Regions from separate parts of the Homo sapiens genome. Here regions 1, 2, 3, 4, 5 and 6 are each linked to region 7. The links are contacts of gene promoters, found by promoter capture Hi-C in blood cells and fetal thymus (Javierre and others, 2016). All regions are on one chromosome and are shown on one strand. Each heading gives the region's core, a stretch centred on a gene start or on the middle of the fragment in contact. The rest is flanking DNA. Distances are from core to core; before and after follow the strand shown. Region 1 has its middle 42 kb from the start of PAPOLG. Region 2 overlaps USP34 (ubiquitin specific peptidase 34). Region 3 overlaps USP34 (ubiquitin specific peptidase 34). Region 4 overlaps XPO1 (exportin 1). Region 5 overlaps USP34 (ubiquitin specific peptidase 34). Region 6 has its middle 60 kb from the start of PAPOLG. Region 7 holds the start of SANBR (SANT and BTB domain regulator of CSR).

Region 1 (3,397 bases), core at 83-2,582, 350 kb before region 7:
ACGGGGTTTCACCATGTTAGCCAGGATGGTCTCGATCTCCTCTCCTCGTGATTGGCCCACCTCAGCCTCCCAAAGTGCTGGGATTATAGGCGTGAAAGATTTGTTTTTGTTGCTATTATTATTTTACCTTTTTTTTTTTTTTTGAGACGCAGTTTCGCTCTTGTTGCCCAGGCTAGAGTGCAGTGGCTCGATTTTGGCTCACCGCAACCTCCACCTTCCAGGTTCAAGTGATTCTCCTGCCTCAGCCTCCCGAGTAGCTGGGATTACAGGCATGAGCCACCATGCCCAGCTAATTTTGTATTTTTAGTAGAGATGGGGTTTCTCCATGTTGGTCAGGCTGGTCTTGAACTCCCGACCTCAGGTGATCCACCCACCTTGGCCTCCCAAAGTGCTGGGATTACAGGCATGAGCCACCACGCCTGGCCTTTTTTTTTTTTTTTTTTTTTTTTAACCTTTGCCTAGATGTCAGAGGATGTATGAGAATGCCTGGGCGCTTAGGCAGAAGTTTGCTGCAGGGACAGGGCCCTCATGGAGAACCTCTGCTAGGGTAGCACAGAAGAGAAATGTGGGATCAGAGCCCCCACACAGAGTCCCTACTGGGGGCACCACCTAGTGGAGCTGTGAGAAGAAGGCCACCATCCTTCAGACCCCAGAATGTTAGATCTACTAACAGCTTGCACCGTGCACCTGGAAAAGCCGCAGACACTCAATGCCAGCCAGTGAAAGCCGCCAGGAGAGGGGCTATACCTGCAAAGCCACAGGGGTGGAGCTGTCCAAGGCCGTGGGAGCCCACCTCTTGCATCAGCATGACCTGGATAGGAGACATGGAGTCAAAGGAGATCATTTTGGAATTTTAAGATTTGACTGCCCTGCTGGATTTCAGACTTGCATGGGGCCTGTAGTCCCTCTGTTTTGACTAATTTACTCCATTCAAAATGGCTATATTTACCCAATTCGTGTACCCCCATTGTATCTAGGAAGTAACTAACTTGCTTTTGATTTTACAGCCTCATATGTGGAAGGGACTTGCCTTGTCTCAGATGAGATTTTGGACTGTGGACTTTTGAGTTAATGCTGAAATGAGTTAAGACTTTAGGGACAGCCGGGTGCGGTGGCTCAAGCCTGTAATCCCAGCACTTTGGGAGGCTGAGGCGGGCAGATCACGAGGTTAGGAAATCGAGACCAACCCAGCTAACATAGTGAAACCCCGTCTCTACTAAAAATACAAAAACTTAGCCAGATGTGGTGGTGGGCGCCTGTAGTCCCAGCTACTCAGGAGGCTGAGGCAGGAGAATGGCATGAACCCGGAAGGCAGAGCTTGCAGTGAGCTGAGATTGCGCCACTGCACTCCAGCCTGGGTGACAGAGCGAGACTCCATCTCAAAAAAAAAAAAAGACTTTAGGGGACTGTTGAGAAGGCATGATTGGTTTTGAAATGTGAAGGCAAGAGATTTGAGAGAGGCCAGGGGCAGAATGATATGGTTTGGCTCTCTCTCACACCCATAGCTCCCGTAATTCCCACATGTTGTGACAGGGACCTGGTGGGAGATAACTGAATCATGGGAGCAGGTCTTTCTTGCGCTGTTCTCATGATAGTGAATAAGTCTCATGAGATCTGACGGTTTTAAAAATGGGAGTTTCCCTGCACAAGCTCTCTCTCTCTCTTTGCCTGCTGCCATCCAAGTAAGATGTGACTTGGTCCTCCTTGCCTTCTGCCATGATTGTGAGGCCTCCCCAGCCATGTGGAACTATAAGTCCATTAAACCTCTTTCTTTTGTAAATTGCCCAGTCTCAGGTATGTCTTTATCAGCAGCGTGAAAACAGACTAGTACAGATCAGGAGTTCAAGCCCATTCTGGCCAACGTGGTGAAACCTTTTCTCTCCTAAAAAATACAAAAGTTAGCCAGGCATGGTGGTGCATGCCTGTAATCCCAGCTACTTGGGAGGTTGAGGCATGAGAATCACTTGAACCTAGGAGACAGAAGTTGCAGTGAGCCAAGATTGTATCACTGCACTCCAACCTGGATGACAGAGCAAGGCTCTGCTCAAAAAATAATATTGATAACAAATAATTAACAGATAGTCCCCTTGCCTCTCACAAGTTAGACAGAACTGCCCAGAATGCCCTGCTGAAGAGTTGTAACAGATAACCCTGTTCCTCCTTAACCTCTCTGTGCTTCATTTGCTCACCTGTAAAATAGTGATCATAGTAGTACCTATCTTGTGGCGATGTAGAGAGGATTAAATAAACTAATTAAGAGGGCCAGGCACAGTGGCTCATGCCTATAATCCCAGCACTTTGAGAGGCTGAGGTGGGCAGATCACTTGAAGTCAGGAGTTCGAAACCAGCTTGAACAACATGGTAAAACCCTGTCTCTACTAAAAAAAAAAAAAAAAATTGCCAGGCATTGTGGCAGGTGCCTGTAATCCCAGCTACTCGGTTGGCTGAGGCAGGAGAATCGCTTGCACCCAGGAGGCAGAGGTTGTAGTGAGCTGAGATCGCACCACTGCACTCCAGCCTGGGTGACAAAGCAAGACTCTGTCTCAAAAAAAAAAAAAAAAGAAGCCAATTAAGGTGGAAGCACTTAGAACAGTGTTTGCACATAGTAGGCCTTCAGAAGTGCCCTAGCCTATGGCTTGCAGTTATTAGGGAGATCAGCCTTTCAGCAGGGCATGGAAGAGAAGGCTTTCTACCAATCCCACCCAGAAACCGGAAACAATTTGCCAACAGGGTAGTTTCTCCTCACTATTAAAGACTGATGAAAGGGGGTATATTAGTCTGTTCTCATGCTGCTAATAAAGACATATGTGAGACTGGGTAATGTATAAAGGAAAGAGGCTTAATTGACTAACAGTTCAGGCGGCGCGGAGGCTCATGCCTGTAATCCCAACACTTTTGGAGGCCCAGGCAGGTGGATCACCTGAGGTCAGGAGTTCAAGACCAGCCAGAATAATATGGTGAAACCCTGTCTCTACTAAAAATACAAAAATTAGCCAGGCGTGGTGGCGGGCACCTGTAGTCCTGGCTACTCAGGAGGCTGAGACAGGAAAATTGCTTGAACCCAGGAGGCGGAGGTTGCAGATATCACACCACTGCACTCCAGCCTGGGTGACAGAGCGAGACTCCATCTCAAAATAATAATAATAGGCCGGGCATGGTGGCTCACACCTGTAATCCCAGCACTTTGGGAGGCCGAGGTGGGTGGATCACAAGGTCAGGAGTTTGAGACCAGCCTGGCTAACATGGTGAAACCACGTCTCTACTAAAAAAAAAAAAAAAAATACAAAAATTAGCCAGGTGTGGTGGCGCTTGCCTGTAATCCCAGCTACTCGGGAGGCTGAGGCAGGAGAATCGCCTGAACCCGGGAGGCGGAGTTGCAGTGAGCCAAGATGGCGCC
Region 2 (3,476 bases), core at 471-2,970, 400 kb after region 7:
TAATAAAACTTACAAGTTAGAAAAAAAGCGAGCTTTGAATTTTGAAAGAAGGTAAGAGGGGCCGGGCAGGGTGGCTCACAACTGTAATCTCAGCATTTTGGGAGGCTGAGGCAGGTGGATGACTTGAGCTCAGGAGTTCAAGACCAGCCTGGCCAACAGGATGAAACCCTGTCTCTACTAAAAATGCAAAAGAATTAGCCAGGCATGGTGGCAGGCCCCTGTAATCCCAGCTACTCGGGAGTCTGAGGCAGGAGAATCACTTGAACCTGGGAGGCAGAGGTTGCAGTGAGCCGAGATGGCACCATTGCACTCCACCCTAGTGAACAAGAGCGAAATTCCGCCTCAAAAAAATAAAAAAAAAAACCCAAAACACTGAAATCTGAAATACAGAAAAAAAAACATACAATTCATTAAATAACAAAAATATGAATGGTTAAATTTACTAGTAATTGCTTAATACATTCTCTACCAAAATAACTTTTATTTTAAGAGATGAAGTCTTGCTATGTTGCCCAGGCTAGCCTTGAATTCCAGGGCTCAAGTGATCCTCCCACCTCAGCCTCCTGAGTAGCTGGGAATACTACAGGCACACATCACCATGCCCTGCTAAAATAACACTTTCTAAAGGATAATATTCAAGACAGGTGAAAGTGCCCTTACACAGGCACGACTACGACTAAAAGATCAATATATCCTTTCTGGCAAGCAAACAGTATGAAAATAATGAAAAATGTTTATATTTTTTGACACAGTAAACTCACGTCTAGAAATCTAAAAGAACCAGGGATGTAGATAAAAGATTTAAGTAGAAAGATGTACATTTGCGGCATTATTCATAATATGGGAGAACTGGAAACAGATATATTAAATTTTATATAAAATGAAATCTTATACAAAAACATGTTTTCAGCCAGACGCGGTGGCTCACACCTGTAGTCACAGCATTTTAGGGGGCCGAGGTGGGCAGATCATGAGGTCAGGAGTTCAAGACCAGCCTGGCCAACATGGTGAAACCTCATCTCTACTAAACGTAACAAAAATTAGTCAGGCATGGTGGCAGTTGCCTGTAATCACAGCTACCCAGGAGGTTGAGGCAGGAAAATCGCTTGAACCCGGGAGGCGGAGGTTGCAGTGAGCCAAGATCAGGCCATCGCACTCCAGCCTGGGGCAACAGAACAAGACTCCATCTCAGGGGGAAAAAAAAAAAAAAGAAAATCAGCCAGGCGTGGTGGCTCATGCCTGTAATCCCAGCAGTTTGGGAGGCCGAGGTGGGTGAATCACTTGAGGCTAGGAGTTTGAGAACAGCCTGGGCAAAACAGTGAAGCCCCATTCCTACAAAAAACACAAATATTAGCTGGGCATGGTGGTACGCACCTGTAATCCCAGCTACTTGGGAAGCTGAGGCAGGAGAATTGCTTGAACCCAGGAAGAGGAGGTTGAAGTGAGCCAAGATCATGCCACTGCACTCCAGCCTGGGCCACAGAGTAAGACTCCGTCTCCAAAAAAAAAAAAAAAATCAATTCAGGAGAACCGGACAAAGTAGCTCACACCCTGTAATCCCAGCACTCTGGGAGGCTGAGGCAAGCGGATCACTTGAGGCCAGGAGTTTGAGACCAGCCTGACCAACATGGCGAAACCCCATCTCTACTAAATATACAAAAATTAGCCCGGCATGATGGCACATGCCTATAATCCCAGCTACTTGGGAGGGTGAGGCACAAGAACTGCTTGAGCCCCCCAAGGCAGAGGGTGCAGTGAGCCGAGACTGTACCAATGCACTCCAGCCTGGGAGACAGAGGGAAACTGTTTCCCAAAAAAAAAAAAAAAAAGGCAGCCAGGTGTGCTGGTATACACACCTATAGTCCCTGCTACTCAGGAGGGTGAGACAGGAAAATCACTTGAGCCCAGGAGGTCAAGTTATAGTAAGCAATAATCACTTCATTGCACTCCAGCCTGGATGACAGAATAAGACTCCATCTCCAAAGGGGGGAAAAAAATTCCAACTTTAGATTAAATGTCTACTGAAAAAGTTATGTTACTAATTGATTTCGTACCTATATACTCATAGTATCTAAAAAGCTCTGGAAACATGTAGTTTTATTAAACGGTTCACTGCAGAATAACAGTATTAAGAAAGATTCTCAGCCGGGTACAGCATACCCCAACACTTTGGGAGGCTGAGGCAGGAGCATCACTTGAGCCCAGGAGCTTGAGGCTGCAGTGAGCTATAATTGGGCCACTGCACCCCAGCATGGGTGATACACTGTCTCTTAAAAAATAATCAAAAATCAAAAAATTTGAAATTTTATTCAATGAAAAAGATTCTTATTCAGCTATACTTATTACCACTTTTGAATTCCTACTACAATTATCACAGAAATTTGTCTGAATTTTTGAAGATACATAAAACACGGTCAGTAATTTTCACTTTGCCAACTGAACAGTGGTGATTCAGATAGATCATCATAAAATTTATACAATGTTAACTAGTAAGAACTTTTAGGCCAGGCAGGATGGCTCACACCCCTAAACCCAACACTTTGGGAGGCCAAGGGAGGCGGATTACCTGGGGTCAGGAATTCAAGACCATCCTGGCCAACATGGTGAAACCCCACATCGACTAAAATTACAAAAATTAGCCAGGCATGGTGGTGCATGCCTGTAATCCCAGCTACTCAGGAGGCTGAGGCAGGAGAATCGCTTGAACCCAGGAGGCGGAGGTTGCAATGAGCCGAGATCATGCCATTGCACACCAGCCTGGGCAACAGGAACAAAATTCCTTTTCAAAAAAAAAAAAAACTCTTAGCCTAATCTGGGATTAAGTCCTGTGGTTCCACCAAACAGTCACATGTGACCCTAAGCAAGTCACATAAATTCTCTAAACCTTAGTTCCCTCATCTGAAAAGGATGACAGAGTACCTCCCTCAAAGAACTGATTAAATCAGCAGCATGCAAAGCATGTAAAGTACTTAAGTACCCAACACAAACTATTCAATAAAGTAATCTGCTTTAAAAATAAAACACACTGAAAGGCCGAGGCAGGTGGATCACCTGACATCATTAGTTCAAGACCAGTGTGGCCAAACTGGTGAAAATTAGTCTCGACTAAAAATACAAACATTAGCTGGGCGTGGTGGCAGGCGCCTCTAATTCCAGCTACTCAGGAGGATGAGGCAGGAGAATCACTTGAAGCAAGGAGGTGGAAGTTGCAGTGAGCTGAGATCGTGCCATTGCACTGCAGCCTGGGCAACAGAGTGAGACTCCGTCTCAAAAACACCACCACCAACAAAATAAACACAACAGAATTATTCTGCAAATACAGATATTGGAGTAGCTGAGTTCCATCTCAAATTTGACTATGCAGGTTGACAGGTGATCTTGGCAAACTACTTATCCTTTCTGAAGTTCAACTTTTTCACCAAATGGTATTGGGATACAACACTTGCTCTTGCCTATCTCACATGAATTATCCATTT
Region 3 (3,261 bases), core at 161-2,660, 330 kb after region 7:
GCGCAGTGGCTCACACCTGTAATCCCAGCACTCTGGGAGGCTGAGGTGGGGGCATCGCAAGGTCAAGAGATTGAGACCATCCTGGCCAACATGGTGAAACCCCATCTCTACTAAAAATACAAAAATTAGCTGGGCATGGTGGTGCGTGCCTGTAGTCCCAGCTACTCGGGAAGCTAAGGCAGGAGAATCGCTTGAATCTGGGAGGCGGAGGCTGAGGTGAGCAGGGATCATACCACTGCACTCCAGCCTGGTGACAGAGCGAGACTCCAGCTCAAAAAAAAAACGAAAAAATAACACTCACCATCTGACAAAGTTACCTTGCCTCAGTAAGAGTGAGGAAATCAGCCAGGTGCAATGGCACACACCTGTAATCCCAGCACTTTAGGAGGCCAAGGCGGGCGGATCATTTGAGCCCAGGAGTTCAAGACCAGCCTGGGGAACATGGTGAAACACTACCTCTACCAGAAACACAAAAATTAGCCAGTCTCAAAATAAATATATAGCTTTTTCTTTAAGTGAGGAGGAAATCATACTAGAAAATAAACAGAATGGGATCATTTCCTGAGTCCCAGGAAATGCTATAAACATGTTCTCTTCTGAATGTGTGATTTAGTATAATAGAGAAAAAGAAGTATTCAGTAACGTTAGTCCGTATCTTTCCTGCCACAAAAGTGATTTATGAGTTATTTTCTTTTCTTTACAAACGGCTGCCCTAAAATCTAATACTATTTTTTTCATTGTTAAATATAGTTCTACTCATTCCTGTGAAATTCAGAGATTCCCAAATAGAGACCTCACCCTATTGAAGCCAAAACACCATGGCTAAACAAGCTGCCCACTTCGCAAGAAAAGGAATAGACATACAAAAATGATCAGGGTTTATACAATGACCCACTAGAGGAAATTACTATGAAATAAATAAAGCACAGCTTCTGTAGCAAGCTTGATTACAAAAAGAACTCTAAGCTCTTAATGTACACTAAAATATTAACCATATAAAAGAAATTAGCTTGCAGAGAGCCAATCTACAATATTTTTTATAAGGAAAAGATGCCTATTAAAGAGTTACTCCATTGAGTTATTATTCTCAGAAAATTAACAAACAGATTATATAGTATTATAGTATTACGGTGTTCAAAAAATATATTAATTTAAATAGTATAATTTTGCTTTAACGGCCTCAGTTGAGTTGCAAGATAAAGAAAACTATGCAGATTGACAACAGCCCACCAATTAGCAGTCATAAAAGGGCTGAAGAGAAAGATAAAACAGAATCTAAGCCTAAACCTTTGTATTTAGTAAAGGATAACTTCACAGGTTGGGCAACAGCGTAACCCCATCTCTACAAAAACAATTTTTAATTTAGCCAGGCGTGGTGACATGCACCTTTAGTCCCAGGTACTTGGGAGGCTGACATGGGAGGGAGGTTTGCTTGAGCCTGGGAGATCAAGGCTGCAGTCAGCTGCTACTACCGCACAGCAGAACTCTCTCTCAAAAACAAAAACAAAACAAAGGCCGGGTGCGGTGGCTCAAGCCTGCAAGCCTGTAATCCCAGCACTTTGGGAGGCCGAGGTGGGCGGATCACAGGAGGTCAGGAGTTCGAGACCAGCCTGGACAACATGGCGAAACCCCGGGTCTACTAAAAATACAAAAATTAGCTGGGTGTGGTAGCGTGCACTAGTTATCCCAGCTACTAGGGAGGCTGAGGCAGGACAACTGCTTGAACCCAGGAGGTGGATGCTGCAGTGAGCCAAGATGGTGCCACTGCACTCTAGCCTGGGTGACGGAGTGAGACTCTGTCTCAAAAAAACGGATAAAGTAAGGAAGAAAAAACCCTGTAAACGATAACTTTTAAAGATATAGTAATAAAGTCTTTAACAAGCTTTCCATACTAGACTGTTAAACAAGAATTAGTACAAATAAATTCAAGAAACAGTTTAATCCAGGTTTATGTAATATTCCTGATTAAGTAAACCCTTTGATAATTTGGTGTTTCAAAATTATATGCCCTCTCCAAAATTACCACAGTGTGAAATAAAAATGTTATCCCAGCATTCCAGTTAACTAAATTGAGATACTTTCTCTCAGAGAATGCCAAAGTACATAAAACTTTCTATCAAACAAATAAGTTCAATCAGAATAACAGGATCACTTAGGTATTTAGTAACAACCGAAGTTAGTAAAAGCCACCAGTTACTACACACTTTATATGTCAAGTGTTACATTATGAGTTTAAAATCTTTCTCATTTTAAACCTCAAAACAATCCTCTAAAGTAGATGGATATCATCATCATTCCCATTTTGCAAATTAAAAAAATTAAGGCTCAGATCACGCAAAGTGGCTCACGCCTGTAATCCCAGCACTTTAGGAGGCTGAGGCAGGAGGATCACCTGAGGTTAGGAGTTTGAGACCAGCCTAGCCAACATGGTGAAACCCAATCTCTATTAAAAATACAAAAATTAACCAGGCATGGTGGCATACGCCTGTAGTCCCAACTACTCGGGAGGCTGAGGCAGGAGAATCACTTAAATCTGGGAGACGGAGGTTGCAGTGAGCCAAGATCATGCCACTGCACTCCAGCCTGGGCAACAGAGCCAGACTCCGTCTAAAAAAAAAAAAAAAAAGGCAACATTATTAACCTACATGCTACACTACTACTATATGTAATAATTTCAACCTATCAGAATGGGTGGAATTTTTTAACTAAAAATGACCTTGATAGTAATCATTTATTACCAATTTTAGTAATGTCAGTGCTGTTTCCAATGTACCGCATCACTGCAAAGCACACAGCATTGGAAACAATGCAACAAAATATTTGGTTGAGTCACTTTTCACCCAATATTTTTATTTTATAGATAATTTAAATATCTGATATTAGCTATTAATTAAGGTAATTCCATTACACAAGATTTCAGTGTTTGGTAAAGGTACACTGAACTTTTGCTTTACCAATTTTTTAAATTATGACCAGAATAGGTTATTAAAGAATGAATTTTAATATACAGGTATTTAAAAGTATCTTTCTTTCCGGGCCGGGCACAGTCGCTCACGCCTGTAATCTCAGCACTTTGGGAGGCCAAGGTGGGTGGATCATGAGGTCAGGAGTTTGAGACCAGCCTGGCCAACATGTACTCAAAATACAGAAATTAGCCGGGCATGGTGGTTCGTGCCTGTAGTCCCAGCTACTTGGGAGGCTGAGGCAGAAGAATCGCTTGAACCCAGGAGGCGGAGGGTGCAGTGAGCTGAGACTGCACCA
Region 4 (3,436 bases), core at 826-3,325, 440 kb after region 7:
TGAACAATTCATTTTTCAACCTTCAGAGGTAAATTATTAGGCCCCGTCTAGGACTATTTCTTAATCTGCAGTTGAAAACCACTACAAGCAATTTAACATATTACTGATCATAGTTCCTTAAAATATCTACAATTTACATCCAAACTGCTTGAAATTGTTTGAGAAATCACTTTAAAATTCTAAAACATAATTATTACTTGCCTGTCTTTTAAATGCTTAGATTTGACTTGGGTTATCTGTCCACTAGAGAAATCAAATACTTCTTCACTCAAGAGTTTAAGAATCACCATATTATTTTGACAGAGACTTTCGCTGGTCCTACTTGCTCCAACAATATCACTGATAAAAGTTGGCCAATGTTTGGGCCATTCTTGTTTCAGTATCTAAAACAAGACATGAAATGTTAATCGCACTTCATTTCTCAAAGGCAAATAAAACAAACTTCAAAGAAATTATGTAATGGATAAAGGCAGGAGTAAGGATAAATCACTTTTCATTTTCTCCTCCTTTATTAAAGGAAGAAATGTGCCACCCTCTTCACCCTACTGGGTAGAAAACAAAACACAAAGTCTTTTATCTTAATCACCGCAGGACCCTTTTCAATTATCCTAATGAAAGGTCCAATCCGTCTAATGGGTCTGTCTGTGTATTAGTATCTGCCTGATAGATATGTAGAAATTATTCTAGGAGGCCTTGCGCGGTTGCTCATGCCTGTAATCCCAGCACTTTGTGGGGAGCCAGGGTGGGCAGATCACTTGAGGCCAGGAGTCTGAGAACAGCCTGGCCAGGCTGGGCGTGGTAGCTCGTGCCTGTAATCCCAGCACTTTGGGAGGCCGAGGTAGGAGGATCACGAGGTCAGGAGTTCAAGACCAGCCTGGCCAACATGGTGAAACCCTGTCTCTACTAAAAATACAAAAATTAGCGAGGCATGGTGACGTGTGCCTGTGATCCCAGCTGCTCGGGAGGCTGAGGCAGGAGAATCTCTTGAACCTGGGAGGCAGAGGTTGCAGTGAGCCGAGACCAGGCCACTGCACTCAAGGCTGGGCAACAGGATGAGACTCCATCTCAAAAAAAAAAAAAAAAAAAAGAGCAGCCTGGCCAACATGGTGAAACCCCGTCTCTACTAAAAATACAAAAATTAGCCAGGGGTGGTGGCGCGGGCCAGTAGTCTCAGCTACTGGGGAGGCCAAGGCAGGAGAATTGCTTGAACCTGGGAGGTGGAGGTTTCAGTGAACTAAGACGGTGCCACTGCACTCCAGCATGGGCGACAGAGCGACACTCCATTTCAAACAAGAAAAGAAGAAATTATCCTAGGAGACTCAAGGATTTAATTAACCATTGGTGATAAAAAGTGACCGGTTAAGACAGCTTATTATTGGATGCAATTTGAGCCTTGAAATGTAGTAGGGTTTGGATATATGAATTTAAAAGAGAGGACGCACTGCAATCGGGGCCTGAATAAACTTTTAACCAAAAGCCTCATGAACTGCATTATATTTGTATGCAAGTCTGGACTATTTATGGCACACACAAGGGATTTTTCAGATTATAAAAATACATGTTAACCTTCTTTATATTCTCTCCTCTCTCTCACCACTCAGAGAAGGGCTAACAGAAAGCTCTAAAGTATAATAAAAGCTGGAGTTAATTACTGAATACACTAAAATTTTTGGAAGCTTGGATGTTTCTAAGTCTTATTTAAATAGAAATTACTGTTTTTTCCCCCACACATACCAGGGTTCTCTGGAAAAAATTTTATGATATTACTATAGAAAACAGATAAACATAAAAATTATAAATTTAGTCTACATAGACAGTTTAAGGACTAAGCATGGAAATCAATTAGAAGGACGAGGAAATCAAAGGACTCAGAGACATACATGCAAAGGAAATATGCACAGGCATATCAGAAAATTAAAAAACAATCCGGCCAGGTGCAGCGGCTCACACCTATAATCCCAGCACTTTGGGAGGTCGAGGTGGGTGGATCACCTGAGGTCAAGAGTTTGAGACCAGCCTGGCCAACATGGTGAAACCCTGTCTCTACTAAAAATACAAAAAATTAGCCAAACGTGGTGGTAAGCACCCGTAATTCCAGCCACTCAGGAGGCTGAGGCAGAACAATCGCTTGAACCCGGGTAGCAGAGGCTGCAGTGAGCCGAGATCATGCCACTGCACTCCAGCCTGGGCAACAGAGGGAGACTGTCTCCAAAAAAAAAAAAAAAAGAAAAGAAAAGATAAATAAGAATCCAACAGAGTCCAGTCCACACTGCAGCCACATAAATGATGGCTTTAACGTTATTTGATGATTACTGCCACAGCAAATTAACATTCAAGTACTAGACAGTAGGTTACCTATTATTATAAGAATACTATCACTACTTCTGCAAAATATTAGTATACTTTATTTCCTAAGTAGGTCGAACATTTTGTTCAAATAATAAGCATAATTCTTCTAAGGAAAACAGTTAAGTTAAAGCTTACCTGAACAAGGATCATATTTAATTTTCCGATATACACCTTTTCTTTCTAAGGAAAAGTAAAAGATTAAATGAGAGCCTGAGGTAAGTATAAATAAGAATATAACCAGACAATCCTAACAAATGATTACAGCTCTACTGTAAATGACTGACTGTGCATATGTGTGACTATGTGTCTTGACAGAATTAGGTTGTAGTCAGACTCAATATCTAAATGATTTTATGCTCTCCCAATAAGCTCCAAAATAAACTCTTACCTCTACACAAGTTGGGTCAGATGACGTCTTGATAATGAGGCCAACAACGTATTTTTTTATTCCTATTAAAAAAATTGCACGTAATAAAAAAATTGTTGAGCTCTTTTGTAGCATGCAAATAAATTTTGAGAACTAATTAATGTGGGAATGGAAAGACTAAGTAAAATCAGTTAATATACTCTAATCCTGTCACCAGTATTGGCATTTTAAAAAAATTCCGGCCCGGTGCGGTGGCTCACGCTTGTAATCCCAGCAATTCTTTGGGAGGCTGAGGTGGGTGGATCACCTGAGGCCAGGAATTCGAGACCAGCATGACCAACATGGTGAAACCCTGTCTCTACTAAAAATACAAAAATTAACTGGGCGTGGTGGCGGGTGCCTGTAATCCCAGCTACTCGGGAGGCTGAGGCAGGGGAATCACTTGAATCCGGGAGGTGGAGGTTGCAGTGAGCAGACATCACGTCATTGCACTCCAGCCTGGGCAACAGAGCAAGACTTAAAAAAAAAAAATCAATGAATTTAATGTGCTATTCATATTTTTAAAGATGGGATCTGGCATTGTTGCCCAGGTTGGTCTTAAACTCATAGACTCAAGTGATCCTCCTGCCTGGGCCTCCCAAAGTGCTGGAATTACAGGAACAAGCCAACAAGCCCAGCCTATAACAAACTGCTATTCCAGTTTCTTTCATCCTGATTTGG
Region 5 (3,322 bases), core at 567-3,066, 360 kb after region 7:
TTTTGCAACAAGTATATCTGCCAACTCTACTGAGAGAGGAAAAAAGGATATTACCATAGAGCAAATGTTATTTGAAGTTAAACTACTCAGCTAAACTCTATGTTCAGCTAGACTGTATACCTCAGAACATTCATTTATGTATCACTGCATTTAACATGTTCATTGGCTACTGCACACAATGCTTCAAACATTCTTACCCATAAAATTTTTTAGAAGGACTAAGTTTAAGTTAAAGTAATTTTTATTTTCATTGGTTTATTCAAGGGAAAAAAATTATTAGCAAAGACTAGTTAAAATCACATTGAGGAACAGGAATCCTTTTTATAAACTTTGATTATATTAACATGTTTTCCTAAAATTTTATTTCCTATAGTCTCAATATATGTATTATTTAGAAATTGGTCTAATACACATAATTATAGAAACGGAACAGATATTAAGTGGCTTAAAAGTATCCCCTACCACAATGACTTTTCTTTTTTAAGGATTAAGATTGTTACAAGCCTTTAGCTATACCATAAAAATTATTTAATCTCTCAAAATAGTTACTTTTCAGAATTTCTGTGACTCTCATATCCCTAAATAAGCAGGGGTCAAAGAAAGAAACTGATATTTATGCCCATGTTTTAAAAACAGAATCATGATCGACCTCATGAGTAAAGATTTAATAAATATTGACAAACTGTCATTTAGTAACTAATGGTATCTAACCCAACACCCTAAAAAGAAAATGTGACAATAAAAATCGCAACTTATAACACAACTCACAAAAATTAGTCTTCGAAATACCTAAAGATGCATACCTCTGTGTCCAGGAATTGATATAAGTAAATATTTTGAGAGTATGTTCCTTTCTGAGCTGCAGTCCATCACCACCTTCTACATCTGATACTGAAATAAAAAAGAAATTTTAAAATTATGAATAATGCTAAACCAGTATTAAAGCCAACAGTTCAAAATAAAGCCAAGAGCTACAAATGCAAACATTTCAGATAATCATTCTTTTGCTTCCAAAGAAAATAAGTCTACTTTTAATTAATAACTCATATGGACTTAAGAACAGATTTTTGACAGATGTAAGGGGTGGGGGGGGCAGTGAGACTTTGCCACTTATTCTGGGATTATCTCTCATCTCCAAAACCAGCCTTCCGTTGTGATGCTGAGGCTGGGACCATGCAATCTACATTTTTCATTTCCAGCTGTCTTCCTGTTAAGATCTTGTTCTCCAGTGCCTATAGGGTACTAGAAGAAGAAGGCAGGAGGAGAGACCAAAGACTTGTCAGCTTGCTATATCTGAAAGCAGCAGCACTGATTCCAGCCTCCAGCTTAGTATTCCAAGAACCAGTCTCATGGTACTCCTCTCAGAGGTATCAGCAGTAGCCACAGAGCATACCTTCCTTGAAGTCACAGCTTCCTTCACACGGCGTTCCTCTTTTGATATGAGGAAGCTTGAGAACATTCAGTTCTCATTAAAAGACCATTTCCCAAAATAATAAAAATTGAACATAACCATTCTTATAATTCCATCATTTTAATGGCTTTTACCTTCTTTGGCTGGTCCACACAGCTTTACAAAGTAGAAAACATAAGGGTCTTTGAAGCCACTAAACCAATTATTATGTATGTACAAGAAAGCATTTTTGAGGCTTATCAGCTTTCTTACTGTTTCTTTATATATTGCTAGTGTCTTCTCTTTAATCCCAAGAAATCTTGCCTGGATCACTGTATCACATTAACGTGAGGAGGGGAAATCCCCTATGAAGCAGTAATATGTCCTACTATACCAGTAAGTTTCCTGTACCAAATATATATGAGGTTAGTTTACATTTAAAACACACACACACACACACACACACGCGCGCGCGCGCACCTTCTACTTAATCAGACTACATACACAATGTTGAGACTTACAGCACACTTCCTCAACTCAGCTCCAGAAATGCTGGTAAGCTGAACTAGGAGGTTGGAAGATTCCTCTCTGGTAATACTGATTAACCAAAAAGGGGTTTAAAAAAAAATTACCTTGGTCAAGGAGAAAAGGAAACGGCGTAAGGCCAAAATACATGTAAAACAGTCACAAGGTAGTAACACCTACACCCAAGACCAGGCTTTTGGGACCTAGATCACATCTGAGGCCCTGGAAGCCGAAGACACTACTGACCATCAGGGAGAAGACCTGGGCAACAAAGCTTAGCAACTAGGACAGAATAAGATATAGTTGGGGCCTAAGATGAAGCAACCACTAAAAACAACCTCTTGCATTGTATGATTTCAACAAGGTGAAGAAGGGATCACAGTACGCCATGCCAGTTTTCCTTCCCCAGCCATAACAGTGCCTAAAAACAGAGGGAAGAGTGGCTACAACCATCATATCCTACTCTAACAAAAAACACACACGGCACACATTCTGAAAAAAAGTTTGTGTGGCCAGAAAACCATCCTCACCAGAGGCCCGCCTGACAGCCTAGCTGCTAACCAACAAAAACTTTCCAACTCATTCCATCCAACCCAGAACCAGAAAGGCAAGTGAAGGACATTTCATCAGAGTAGAGTTCTCCAAACACACAGCTATCATCATACTCAAAGGTGAAAGCCCAAAAGCTTTTCCTCTAAGATTAGGACCAAGATAAGGTGGTCACTTTCACAATTTCTATTCAACACAGTATTAGAAATTCTAGTCAGAGCAATTCAATGAGGAAGAAAATGGAAAGAAATCAAGTCACTTCTGTCCACAGATAACATGAACCAACAGAAAACCCTAAGGATTACACAAGAAGAACTGTTAGAACTAACAGCCGGTAATCCCAGCACTTTGGAAGGCCAAGGCGGGCAGATCACTTGAGCTTAGGAGGTCAAGACCAGCCTGAGCAGCATAGTGAAACCCCATCTCTACGAAAAATATAAACAATTAGCCAGGCATGGTGGTGCACACCTCTGGTCCCAGCTACTGAGGAGGCTGAGGTGGAAGGATCACTCGAACCTGGAAGGTTAAGGCTGAAGTGAGCCGAAAAAAATCAGTGGCTTCCATTAAACTGCAGTTTGCATTTCAGCATTCCAACCTGGGTAACAGAGTGAGACCCCCTCTCAAAAACAAACAAACAAAAAATAAGTGAATTCAACAAAGTTACAGGATACAAATTCAAAACACAAAAATCAGATATACTTTTGTCTTTTTAAATTTTTGGTTTTTTGAGACAGTCTCACTCTTTTGCCCAGGCTGGAGTGCAGTGGCACAATCTTGGCTCACTGCAACCTCTGCCTCCCAGGTTCAAGCGATTCTCCTGCCTCAGCCTCCTGAGTAGCTGGGATTACAGGTGCCCAC
Region 6 (3,039 bases), core at 315-2,814, 370 kb before region 7:
TGCAAAGAAAGCTGGCAAATCTCAGCCGGGCACGGTGGCTCACGCCTGTAATTCCAGCACTTTGAAATGCTAGATAACTAATCAGAGGTTAGGTAAAATGGACCACCAACAAGTGAAGACTTTCCCTAAAACGCCTCTCAAATTCATCTATCATTACGTACCCTTGTGCCTATTTTATTTTATTTTGTTTTGTGTTACGGTCTCATTCTGTTGCCCAAGCTGGAGTGCAGTGGCATGATCTCGGCTCACTGCAACCTCTGCCTCACGGGTTCAAGTGATTCTCCTGCCTCAGCCTCCCTAGTAGCTGGGATTACTGGTGTGCACCACCACACCCAGCTAATTTTGGTATTTTTGGTACAGATGGGGTTTCACCATGTAGAGCAGGCTGGTCTGGAACTCCTGACCTCAAGTGATCTGCCTGCCTCGGCCTCCCAAAGTGCTGGGATTACAGGCATGAGCCATGGTGCCTGGCCCTTTATGCCTTTTTTAACTTTACAGATTAAAAAACCACAAGTATGGCTGGGCTTGGTGGCTCACTTCTATAATCCCAGCACTTTGCAAGGGCGGCAGATTGCCTGAGTCCAGGAGTTCGAGACCAGCCTGGGCAACATGGTGAAACCCCGTCTCTGCAAAAAATACAAAAATTACCCGCCTGTAGTACCAGCTGCTCGGGAGGCTGAGGTGGGAGGATCACTTGAGCCTGGGAAGTCAAGGCTGCAGTGAGCCGTGATCATGCCACTGTACTCCAACATGGCTGACAGAACGAGGCCCTGTCTCAAAATAAATAAATTAATAAATAAATAAATGGAAAATGCAAAGCCACAAGTAATATGACACTTTGAAGCTTTCACTGATTACTCCCATAGAGAGGTATCAGCTAAGGTCCGGAAGATTTAACCAAGCACAGCCTCCCCAGCTATCAACACTTTTGAGAAGTGTTTTGATACTTTTTGATAACGTTTGTGGGCAAACATTATCTTATGATAGATAACATCACAATCTCAAGGAGCAAGAAATGGGGCTATTATTTTAGCCCCTTTTCTGTTTAACCTGTACTTTAATAGACAGATACGACTTTTAGGTCACCTGAATGCATGTCTATATGTCACACTAGATAAAGAGGGGATGATAATGGGGCTTCTGTATCAAAACTAGGAATAACCCCAAAAAGCAATTGGTCTAAACGTCTATGACCAGAAGAAAACGCATTTCCCGTAATGAAGTAAGATGATAGTTAAGATATGTTAAGGCATGGCTTTTAAAACATATTAGCAGCATATGATGACTTTTAAAAAGAAAAAACCCATTCCTTAAAGACCTAGCACGAAATATACATAAAGTGACTTAATACTTGCCAAAAACATCTCTTGCAACTATGCCCAAAATATGTACATATTTAAGTAAAGGCCAACAGGCAACATTCAAAAACAAAAAGAGTAACTGCTATGCTCAGGCAACATAATTATGAGTGGCTTATTTTCTCCTTTCAACATTTTCTCTAATATTTTTACATCTTATTGTTAACCATTTGTTTCTAATTTATTGCAAAAGAACAAAGAAAAAGAAGAATCCTTTCTTGTTCTTAACACAGCTATAAGAAGCCTTCCACTCTTCAGTAGGAGACAGTCACTATTTTCATCAAGATTGGCAGAATAAGTAGTTCTAAAGTGAAATGTAGAATTTTTCAAAATTATAGTCCCCTGATCAAGACTGGGGGAAATTAATTTTTTAAAGCATGAGAAAAGAACACTTTCCTAGAGGATACACAAGCACTGGTCAGTCTTTTCCTAACACTGAGGATGCCCAAAGGCTGTTACTCTGACCAGCACTTTCATTATTAAGAAGCTGAGAGGTGAGGCTACTCTTTGACTTAGAGAATATTTTATTGGCAGAAGCTCCAAAGAGATCCTTTCTTTAAATATTCACTGTGTTCAGCGTACCCTATTACCTCAGGGATTTACTGAGAAATCCAAGAAAGTCTGTTTTGCATCCTTAGGCAAAGGTTAGCTATTTCAGGGGGTTGGTGTATGTGATGTGTTTTCTTATGGACACCATAATTCTGTCCCTGAAAACCCCTTTTTTCTACAAGGCCTTTTAAACTTCCTGAATATCTTTGAGATTCTTAAGCTCATCAATGAGTATCAAAAAGTGCTACCTGTGTCCAAACCCACAATTTCTCACCTTCATTAAAATATCTGCCTTCATTGCCCTATTAGATCCCAGAGAATCTTTGTCTCACTTACTTGGATATCACTTAAAAATCCAAGAAGATATAGGGACATTTGAAGCTTCCCTGAGAAGTTGAGTTAGAAATTCAGGGCTCTCTCCTTTTTTTTTTTTTTGAGACTGAGTCTCACTCTGTCACCCAGGCTGGAGTGCAGTGGCGTGATCTCAGCTCACTGCAGGCGCCCACCACCTCGCCCGGCTAATTTTTTGTATTTTTAGTAGAAATGGGGTTTCATCGCGTTAGCCAGGATGGTCTCAATCTCCTGACCTCGTGATCCACCCGCCTCGGCCTCCCAAAGTGCTGGGATTACAGGCGTGAGCCACCACGCCCGGCCTGCTCTCTCCTTTATTCTTTTTTTTTTTTTAAGACAGAGTCTTGCTCTGTTGCCCAGTCTGGAGTGCAGTGGCATGATCTCTGCTCAGTGCAACCTCCGCCTCCCAGATTCAAGCGACTCTCCTGCCTCAGCCTCCTGAGTAGCTGGGATTACAGGCGTGCACCACTACACCCGGGTAATTTTTGTATTTTTGATAGAGTTAGGGTTTTACCATGTTGGCCAGGCTGGTGAAATCTGCCTGCCCCAGCCTCCCAAAGTGCTAGGATTACAGGCATGAGCAACTGCGCCCGGCCTGAATGTCTTTAATAAATGTAACGCCACTATAAACACCAACTATGTGGCCAGGCTATGTATGCACTTACTTTTGAAAAGAGCTTTCCCAGGAGGGAGCTGTTTTGTTCTCATTGAGTAGAACAGAGTTCTTCCAGGAAGAAGACAGAGTTTAGAGAATGAAAGCTGAAATGTTAAAAAATTTCTA
Region 7 (3,327 bases), core at 427-2,926:
TTCAAGACCAGCCTGGCTAACATGGTGAAACCCCATTTCTACTAAAAACACAAAAATTAGCCGGGTGTGGTGGCACACGCCTGTAATCCCAGCTACTCGGGAGGCTGAGGCAGGAGAATCACTTGAACCAGGGAGGCGGAGGTTGCAGTGAGCCAAGATCGCGCCATTGCACTCCAGCCTGGGTGACAAGACCGAAACTCTGTCTCCAAAAAAAAAATAATAATAATTTACCTGGCTGGGCATGGTGGCTCACGCCTGTAATCCCAGCACTTTGGGAGGCCGAGGCGGGCAGATCACCTGAGGTCAGGAGTTCAAGACCAACATGGTGAAACCCCATCTCTACTAAAAATACAAAAAATTAGCTGGACATGGTGGCATGCGCCTGTAAATCCCAGTTACTCAGGAGGCTGTGGTAGGAGAATCGCTTGAAGGGAGGTGGAGGTTGCAGTGAGCCCAGACGGTGCCACTGCACTCCAGCCTGGGCAACAGAGCAAGACTCCATCTCAAAAAAATAAAAAAAGAATTTACCTGACTTAACCTAACATCTTATGATACGACACTTGCCTAACTTTATTTTTATTTTTATTTTTGACAGGGTCTCACTCTGTTGCCCAGCTTGGAGTGCAGTGGTGCAAACATAGCTCATTGGGGCCACCACGCCCAGCTAACTTAAAAAAAAAACAACTTTTTTTTTTTTTTGGTAGAGACAGGGTTTCACTTTGTTGTTCAGGCTGTGCTCAAGCAATCCTCTCGTCTTGGTCTCCCTAAATGCTGGGATTATGGGATTACAGGTGTGAGCCACCGCACCCAGCCACTTTAATGTCTTTGTGGAACAAAAATCGTAAAAGATCTGCAGAAAGTCACAGGATGATACAATTGGTAAAAACTCCTGACATTCTGTACAGTGAACCACTTAATCTCTACTTAATCATCAGATCTCGTAGTAATTATTCATTTGGTTAAGGCTTTACTTTTTCTGTTCTTTCTAATCCTAACATTTAATTTTGGTTCTCAGAATAGACCAAGTGGAAATTAGATAGAAATGTTGACATGTAGCAGTTACCCTACAATATTGAGCCGTTTGCATTTTACTAGATGCCCAATAGTAGTGTTCCTCACAATAACACACACACACACACACACACACACACACACACACCCTATTAATGTATGAAAACCGAATTTGTAATCCAGAGCTATTTACATTTTTAAAGAGCTACCTCCTGGTAAAGACACTTCAGGTCCTTACCCAAAGACCTTGGTCTAAAAGATACTTTCGGTGTCCCTCATCATGCGATCTTTCCGCTCTACCTAAGCGGTGTACCAAATGATCTGCACCAAGAACAATTTCATCCATTCTTTAATCTTTTATCTCCTGTATATCCCCCTTTCTTCTGGACTCAGGGTTGGTCACCTAAGATCAGGCTCCTAGGATCTGGTTGCTAAGAGACAAGACGCTGGGAGGGTGGGGACGCTGCACTGCGACAAGCCTGGGAGTGTATGCCAGAGGAGGAAGGAGAAGCAGCAGGCAAGGCAAGGCGACAGTCAGCCGCCGCCGCCCCTCCGGTGCCCTCCCGCCCGGCAGGGGCTCGGCGCTCATTGGCTCCGCCGCTGCGGCGCTGGCCCGCGATTGGCCGGGCGGCGTCGGCTCGGCGGCTCCCCCACCCCTCGGCGCTAGTCTCCGCAGCCGCCTGCAAGCGGGCGGGGGCGGGGTGTGAGGCGCTGCGGACGGGGTTGCGGGCTCGGTAGCGGCAGCTTCAGGGCGCGAGCGCGGGCGGTGCCGACCACTGCAGGTAACAGAGGCGCTGCGAGGGCAGCCGCGGCCCTGTGGAGGTGAGCGAGACGCCGAGGGGGCTCGGGTGCCCACCGCGGGGCGGGAAGTGCGGCATGGGGCGGTACCGCTCACAGCCAGCCGGCTCCCGCCGCGGCTTCCCACCCCGGGCGGGGTCCCACTTGCCCAAACGCCCCCGAACGCCCCCGTGCACAGCCTCAGCCGGCCGCGCCTCGAGCAGCCAGCTGGCCCGCGTCCCGTCACCCGCCCGGTCCATGTCCCTGCAGACCGTCCCGCCCGCGCACAGCGGCGGGAACCCCAGCTTCTGCGCGCCCGGCCGCGCCCCGGGCCTCTGCCCCGCCTCGCTCCCGCTGCCCGGCGCCTTTGTCCGCTCTGCGCCCCTGGAGTTTCTGTGCCTCCACGGGCGGGAGCGGGGCGCGAAGGTCTGGGGGTGCCCCGAGGACGCGCCGCGTAGTGAGCCTCCGGGCCCAAGGTTTGACTGGCTTTGACCTCATGCCGGTTCTGGGATGTGATTTTACTTTCTCCTCCAGCTGACTCCGATCTCCTGTGTGTGCAGAAGTCAGGAAGCCTGGGTACAAGGCTTCTTCCCGGTCCGGGATGACTCGGTGTTACCGCCGCCCTCTGTTAGGCCAGAGGCCTTTGACCTGCCTGCCTGCCTGCCCCACGGGGCCCCCTCTCTTCCCATCTTTCCACTGGCTAAGGGAAAACGTCTCTGTCTCCAAGAGCTTTTTTTTCTATTTGAAATAAGAAAAAAATATATCAGATTCCTGTTGTAGACCTCTATCTGGTGTGGAAGTGACTTAGACTAGTCTTCTTAATTAATACATGTATATTAAATACATAAACCAAGAGAAGGGGGTCGGGGAGGGGAGGGGAAGTATGTTCTTAAAAAATGAAGTCTGTTAAACATATTGGATTTTTATTTTTGGTAAATAACGTATTTTACCTTAAATATTGTCAAGATTTTGATATTTTATGAATGGGAGTGGATTTCATAGTAATTTGAACTTTGAGCTTTTTCTTGTCACCGTTTTTGATAAATTTATACTTTCCTGAATGAGGTGCACTATAACAGCTATTTCGAGATAATTTATGTTTTATTAAGGATTATCCATCAATGCTATGCCTTTTATACTTAAATTCAGACTCTGATTTCTTGGACATTCATTTAACTAGAATTAATGCTGGGGGGTCTTCCCTTGCCTAGTACAGTTGTATAAAGAGAAAGTCAACAGAAAAACTTTTTTCTCATTTGGATGATTTAAAGTACTCTTAAACATGTATAGCATAAATTAGTATCACATTTGAAATGTAAGCTTTTAAGTGTTTGACGTGGGTAATATTTTTGAACTTTTAAATGAATCTTTTTGGAAGTGAAGAGAAATGAGCTCTCAGGGAAGATCCTTGCCCTGAATTCCATTTTAGATTGCTTTCTACCAAGGCCCAAACAAATTATAATAAAACGCCCTGGCCGGGTGCAGTGGCTCACGCCTGTAATCCCAGCACTTTGGGAGGCCGAGACGGGCGGATCACGA

What was found. Contacts are between HindIII fragments. The CHiCAGO score rates a contact against its expected background, and 5 or more counts as called.
Region 1: a contact is called between a fragment that was not itself captured here and the fragment with the promoter of SANBR in region 7, in 2 of 17 cell types (monocytes and M2 macrophages). The highest score is 6.5, in monocytes.
Region 2: a contact is called between a fragment that was not itself captured here and the fragment with the promoter of SANBR in region 7, in 1 of 17 cell types (M2 macrophages). The highest score is 5.9, in M2 macrophages.
Region 3: a fragment that was not itself captured here is called in contact with the fragment with the promoter of SANBR in region 7 in 1 of 17 cell types (M2 macrophages); the score reaches 6.0 in M2 macrophages.
Region 4: a fragment that was not itself captured here is called in contact with the fragment with the promoter of SANBR in region 7 in 1 of 17 cell types (M0 macrophages); the score reaches 5.1 in M0 macrophages.
Region 5: a contact is called between a fragment that was not itself captured here and the fragment with the promoter of SANBR in region 7, in 1 of 17 cell types (M2 macrophages). The highest score is 6.3, in M2 macrophages.
Region 6: a contact is called between a fragment that was not itself captured here and the fragment with the promoter of SANBR in region 7, in 1 of 17 cell types (activated CD4 T cells). The highest score is 5.4, in activated CD4 T cells.

The regions. Positions count from the first base shown.
Region 1 is chr2:60,712,112-60,715,508 of GRCh38, forward strand. No RefSeq gene overlaps it. Among named protein-coding and RNA genes, the nearest start is that of PAPOLG, 42 kb to the right of the region's middle. The HindIII fragment of the contact is 6,738 bases long and covers 1-3,397 here.
Region 2 is chr2:61,461,050-61,464,525 of GRCh38, forward strand. All of the region lies in intron 1 of USP34 (ubiquitin specific peptidase 34), which reads right to left. Among named protein-coding and RNA genes, the nearest start is that of USP34, 8.3 kb to the right of the region's middle. RefSeq lists an enhancer at 3,144-3,363. The HindIII fragment of the contact is 4,536 bases long and covers 1-3,476 here.
Region 3 is chr2:61,390,821-61,394,081 of GRCh38, forward strand. The region is part of intron 5 of USP34 (ubiquitin specific peptidase 34); the gene reads right to left. Among named protein-coding and RNA genes, the nearest start is that of SNORA70B, 25 kb to the right of the region's middle. The HindIII fragment of the contact is 940 bases long and covers 941-1,880 here.
Region 4 is chr2:61,499,512-61,502,947 of GRCh38, forward strand. It overlaps XPO1 (exportin 1), which reads right to left. Exons shown (of 25, transcript NM_003400.4): 5 at 2,738-2,799; 6 at 2,485-2,529; 7 at 202-383. Among named protein-coding and RNA genes, the nearest start is that of USP34-DT, 30 kb to the left of the region's middle. The HindIII fragment of the contact is 803 bases long and covers 1,675-2,477 here.
Region 5 is chr2:61,419,943-61,423,264 of GRCh38, forward strand. USP34 (ubiquitin specific peptidase 34) reads right to left here. Exons shown (of 80, transcript NM_014709.4): 2 at 804-891. Among named protein-coding and RNA genes, the nearest start is that of SNORA70B, 4.2 kb to the left of the region's middle. The HindIII fragment of the contact is 741 bases long and covers 1,447-2,187 here.
Region 6 is chr2:60,694,613-60,697,651 of GRCh38, forward strand. No RefSeq gene overlaps it. Among named protein-coding and RNA genes, the nearest start is that of PAPOLG, 60 kb to the right of the region's middle. The HindIII fragment of the contact is 1,444 bases long and covers 843-2,286 here.
Region 7 is chr2:61,064,195-61,067,521 of GRCh38, forward strand. It overlaps SANBR (SANT and BTB domain regulator of CSR), which reads left to right and starts at 1,677. Exons shown (of 22, transcript NM_001129993.3): 1 at 1,677-1,833. RefSeq lists silencers at 1,457-1,826, 1,857-2,206, 2,217-2,276 and enhancers at 1,566-2,067, 2,068-2,567. The HindIII fragment of the contact is 4,406 bases long and covers 1-3,106 here.